2 separate regions of the Homo sapiens genome follow, and region 2 is linked to region 1. The links are contacts of gene promoters, found by promoter capture Hi-C in human tissues and cell types (Jung and others, 2019). All regions are on one chromosome and are shown on one strand. The core of a region is centred on a gene start or on the middle of the fragment in contact, and the rest is flanking DNA. Distances in the headings are between cores, read along the strand shown. Region 1 holds the start of SLAMF8 (SLAM family member 8). Region 2 overlaps LOC101928264 (a long non-coding RNA gene).

What was found. Contacts are between HindIII fragments. The study calls those that stand out against the background at their distance.
Region 2: a fragment that was not itself captured here is called in contact with the fragment with the promoter of SLAMF8 in region 1 in 16 of the 25 tissues and cell types used here (IMR-90 fibroblasts, adrenal gland, aorta and 13 more).

Annotation. Positions count from the first base shown.
Region 1 is chr1:159,825,439-159,828,221 of GRCh38, reverse strand. It overlaps SLAMF8 (SLAM family member 8), which reads right to left and starts at 1,349. Exons shown (of 5, transcript NM_020125.3): 1 at 1,284-1,349. The coding sequence starts at 1,323. The HindIII fragment of the contact is 29,109 bases long and covers 1-2,783 here.
Region 2 is chr1:159,774,900-159,777,682 of GRCh38, reverse strand. LOC101928264 (a long non-coding RNA gene) reads left to right here. Exons shown (of 3, transcript XR_922193.3): 3 at 928-1,226. Among named protein-coding and RNA genes, the nearest start is that of DUSP23, 4.7 kb to the left of the region's middle. The HindIII fragment of the contact is 6,090 bases long and covers 1-2,783 here.

The DNA.
Region 1 (2,783 bases), core at 100-2,599:
CTTCAGTACCACTGAAAAATAAGGGGTCTGTACCAGGTCAGTCACACAGATCTTTGATCATTAAGGGCCATTTGAAAAATTATTTTTGGGCTGGGTGTGGTGGCTCATGCCTGTAATTCCAGCACTTTGGGAGGCTGAGGAGGGCGGATCACTTGAGGTCAGGAGTTTGAGACCAGCCTGGTCAACATGATGAAACCCTGTCTCTACTAAAAATACAAACATTAGCCGGGTTTAGTGGCAGTGACCTGTAATCCCAGCTACTCAGGAGGCTGAGACAGGAGAATCGCTTGAACCCAGGAGGCAGAGGTTACAGTGAGCTGAGATGCACCATTGCATTCCAGCCTGGGTGACAGAGCAAGACTCCGTCTCAAAGAAAAAAAAAAAAGGCAAATTATTTTTGTCTCACCAAACAGACCAAGGCCTTTTTTGAGGTTAAGGTGTGATTTCCTGCACATGTTTAGAAATATTGAAGAAATCTGCAGGCTTTGGAGCTCTCAGGGCCAGGAACTCAGGCAAGGAGATGAAACAAAGCAACCCAAAGTCCCTATGAGCCTCTGATGTAAACAATATCATCTTAATCTTTGCTGCACCCCATAAACCCTCATCCATGGCCCGGCAGTGTTGACCCATGTCATGTTGGCTGCTTGTTGACCAAGGAAGGGAACTCAGGCATCAGATGGATAGAGGGATCGCCCGGTGTGGAGGAGACCCCGTGTATCAGCCATCCCAACATCACACCACCGTCGGCCACCCCTAAGTCCACGTGGGCCACATTTAGCCTCTCTCATCCCTACTTAGTACTTGCCTCCCCTTATAAAGGCCTGTAGGGAGGGACCTCAGCTCCCCCACAGGCTGTTGAAAACACACTCTGCTGATTGTGGGGAACCCTGCTCTGCCCTGCCCTCTGCTACTCTCCTCAAACTCTGCAGAGTTTCTGCATGCTAACACTGCCGGGTCCTCACCATTCTCACAGCCGACTTTCTCTCCAAACCAGCAGTATCACCCACTGGCTCCGTTTTTACTGCTCTGGGCCACAAAACAGCTCATGTCTCACAGATAAGAATACCCCTCAAGCTGCCACCTCCTCCCTCCCAGGACCCTGCATCTCTTTGTATCTGCCTAGCTTAAAATGTTGCCCAAGAGCTTGTTCTAGTCTTTCCTACCCACCCTCAGCTTCTGGGTTCTCACCCAGGTCGAGGGATCCCTGCCCAGACGTCTGGCATAGGCAGCTGGGGAGGGGCCTTCAGCTCTCCGAGGACAGGCTATCTGCCTGCCCCACTTACCTTCCCAGAGAAGCAGACTCCACAGGGGCCTCATGACCATCTTTCTCTGGAGAGGCAGGCAAACTCCCTCGACAGCCAAAATCCAGAACCTCCCAGGCCGAGTGGATGCACGGGAGGAGCTGTGGTCCTTCTGGAAAGTCCCATGTTCAGAAGGAGGAATCTTGACTCAGAACAGGATGTCCCAAAAGTGAAAACATCCAGAATAAAGTGGAAGTTGTCCCTGGGCCTCTCTGGGCTTACAGGAGCAGATTCTTGTAAGTCAGCCTCTTTCACATGCACATGGTTGGCTAACACGTGGCGACAACAGCCCCCACACAAGCCACATCCTCCTTGCTGGATCTCGCTGGCCTTCCTGCATCTCAGCCTGCCTCACTACTATCTGTCATCCTCATTCTAGCTTAAAATGCTTCTGTGGCCTCCCGTGGACCTGAGGATGAGGACTAACTCTGCTCTGCATGCAGGCCCTCCTGAGTCAGGCCTTCTTCTCCAGGCTGGTCGCCCACAGTCATTCTGCCCTCCAGCCATCCCAAGCCAGAAGGCCTCCTTCTCAGAACTACTGATTTCACACTTCCCTGTGTTGTACTTTCCCCACCACCCCGACTAGGCATGCTGCTCCCTCTATCCTTGCAAACAGAACATGGCTGTGCAGTCGGCGAGGACATCCTTCCAGGCTTCCTGACCACAGGCAGGTGAGAGGCCCTCTCCTTGTGTCCTGTGCATGCCCACACCTCCCTCTTTACTCTTGCTGTGTTGTTGATGACAGTTTTCTGGTTTTCACAGACTGTTTAGCCAGTCTTTTGTTCCCTTCTGTGTTGCCCTCAGTGCTTGGCACATTACAGATGTTTCATGAGTATTTGTTAAGTGAGTGAGTACATTCTAGACATGGCTACACATCTGGCTTTATGTAAGCCTTGCAACTCTCCTCTGAGAGGATCATCTTGTTACCTGGTTAGAAATGGGAAAATGTGAAAACCAGAGTGAGGTTAGGCCCCTTGCAGAGCTCACAGAGAGGCAGAGCTGGAACTTGAACCTCAGCCTTTGAAGTGTGGTCTATTTTGCCACAGTTATCCCCTCCTCATCCTGTTTCTCTTCTCACTTCAAGTTTCTTGGTTTCTTGCCAGTGAAGGTTTTTAGAGGACGTGTTGCCCCTGAGGAAAATTCCTGCTAGTCTGGAGTGTGGCTCATCGTATCTGGTCCTGCACAGCCTCTCGCCTGTCAATCAAACTGGACACTGAGCTTTGGACTCAGCCAGGAACTAGGCATATAGGATGGGGTGGGGGTGGGTGGTGAGCAGGAGGATTTTGGGATAAGGTTTTTGCCCTCCAGGTACTCACAACCAAAATGTAGAGATAGGTACACCAAGGAAAGTGAAGGGTTATCTGCAGACAGACACCACTTTGTGCAAACAGGTAGTCAGTCCTCAGAAGTGGGTGGGAAAGAGGGCTTCGCGGATCTGGGCAGGGGACGCTTCTTGAGAAGGTGGAATTTGAGCTGTGCCTT
Region 2 (2,783 bases), core at 179-2,678, 51 kb after region 1:
TCAACCTAAATGTCCATCAGTGATAAAGAAAATGTGGTACATATACACCATGGAATATGATACAGCCATAAAAAGCAATGAGATCATTCCCTTGCAGGGACATGGATGGAACTGGAAGCCATTATTCTCAGCAAACTAACACAGGAACAGAAAACCAAACACTGCATATTCTTACTTACAAGTGGGAGCTGAATGATGAGAACACATGGACACATGGGGATGGGGAACAACAAATGCTGGGGCCTGTCTGGGGTGGGGACTTGGGGAGGGAGAACATCAGGAAGAATAGCTAATGGATGCTGGGCTTAAAACCTAGGTGATGGGATGATCTGTGCAGCAAACCACCATGGCACACTTTTACGTATGTAACAAACCTGCACATTCTTCACATGTACCCCTGAACTTAAAAGTAAAAAATAAGGCTTAACAGAACATTTTTTAGGGCATCTCAGCTTCCCTTTTTCCAGCTGATAAGAATGTTTTGACTTAGTTCTTGTTCATATTGAGGCCCCAGTCCCCTGTTTGGCTTGATGCTAGTGGCAATTAGGGGTGCAATTGGAGTCAGAGAATTTCTTCCTCCAGGTAGGTCCCTGTGTTCCACCAATGCAAAGGATTGCTTGGGTTCAGGTTCCTGTGGCCCTTGGACTACAGTCAGAATTCTCAGTGTCCTCAGTGTTCTGATTTTTTAATGTCTAAACACACTTCACACCTAAGATCTGATAATCTGGAAACTGAACCTAAGAAGAAATGGTATGGCAGCTAGCTTCCAAGATGGTACCCAATGAGCCATTTCATGCCTGTGTAGTGCTTTTCCACATTGATAGGGCTGATTTTTGCAACCAGTAAGATATTGTGTAACTGGTGGTGTGTGACTTCCTAGGCTGCATCATGAAATACTTAATTTTTGCCTTGTTCTGTCTTGGAAAGAAGGCCTGCCATGGGAAGCTTTGGGAAGAAGCCAGCTGCCATGTTGTGAGAACTCTCAAGCAGCTGTGTGGAGAGATCCATGTGGTGAGGAACTGAAGCCTCCTACCCACCATCAAGTCAGTGGCTCACTACTGTTGCAGTGAATTCTCCAGCCCATGAAGACTTTAGATGATTTACCCAACATCTTGATTATAGCCTCATGGATTCCCTGAGCCAGAACAACCCAGCTAAGCCTCTCCTGAATTCCTTACCTACAGAAACTGTGAGATAATAAATATTTATTCTTTTAAGCCATCAAATTTTGGGTAATTTATTATGCAGTAATATGTAACTAATATAGATAAAAATATTCAGTTTGAAGGAAAGAAGAAAAATAACTTACAATAAACTCAAGAAATAAAATAAAATTAAAACAAAGGTTAATTCAAAAAGAAAGAATTATACTGTAAGCAGTTGTGGTCTAAGTGTGTGTATGCAGGAATGTTGTGATAGATCAATGCAAATTTTCCATATTTGGAGAACCATGCTGTCTGTGGGGGAACCAACCAGAGTAGTCTGGGCATGAGTTTTGTGTGTGTGTGGTGTTGGAGGTATAGGTTGCTGTGGTATTTGTATGGTTAGAGATGATATACAAATTATTTAATGATTGGTCATGGCACAAGAAACAAGCAATTAAAATGGAACCTCTACCAGAACCATTACCTGCAAACAAACAGTGAAGCTACCCTGGTGTCAGTTGGATGTGTGTCAGCTTTGGGTGTAGAGGCGCTGAAATGGTCTGGGGTGTGGTCAGATTACCTTGGACATTTTAATATAGGTCTTTCCACAAGATGGCACTGATAGCTTTTCCTTGTTTCTCTTTTTTTTGTCTTGTTGAAAAATTTGTGATTCGTATACTGTTGCAGAACATACCATAACTGAAATCTCCCAATTTACTAGTTGATTTCTTGTACTTTTGACAAGTCAATTGCCTTTATGGCATTTAAAATTATGGTGTTTTTTTCTTTTTTTTTAGATCATCCCAGGAGCACATTAAAAGTTTAAGTTGGGGTGTTGGGAATGCTGCCTCACATCAGATGCTATCATCATGGGAGCTGGAGATGGGGAGGGAGGTGGGGACTAGGCTTTGGTTTTTGAAAAGCCATTCAACAAAGGCAGGTGAGAGTGGAATCAAGAGGGAGCATTCAGTTAGGGAAGAGGCACTTCTGTGATCAAAACCATGTTGGTGGACTCTCTCACTTCTTCTGTTTACGCTGCCTCGAGCCTCAGCTGAGCCATAGCCTGGCTGGCACTTTGATATCAGCCTGAGGAGACCCTGAGCTTAGGTTCAGCTAACCTGTGGCCAACTTCTGACCTACAGAACTGACATCATAAATGGTGTTTCTTTAGCCATTATGTTTGTGGCAATTTGTTATGCAGCAATAGAAAACCAATATAGTTGCCTTTATTTACTTTATTTTCTTATCTTTAATATGCTCATCACAGCACTAAACCTTTGGAGTTTCTAAACTGGTGTATTGCTTTTTTTCTTTCCCCTTTGTTTTAAGTTTTTCGGTCTCTAAAACTATAGGCCGCATAGGTTCATTTTCCAGTGTAGATGCAACAAATATGATGAACCAATGGAACTCACAAACTGTCAGCATCTGGTTTCGTTTTGGCACCTTCTAAACTCCTGGCTGCTCCCTCCACCACCTTTAGACCAGTGCTTCTCAAGGTGTGATCCACAGTTGATGTCACATGGGAGCCTGTGATAGATGCGGAATCTCAGGCCCCCCGACCTGTGAGATCCTCAGGTGGCTCATAAGCACACCTATGACTAAGAAGCCCTGGTGTAAGACTTGTTTGTCCTGCAGCTC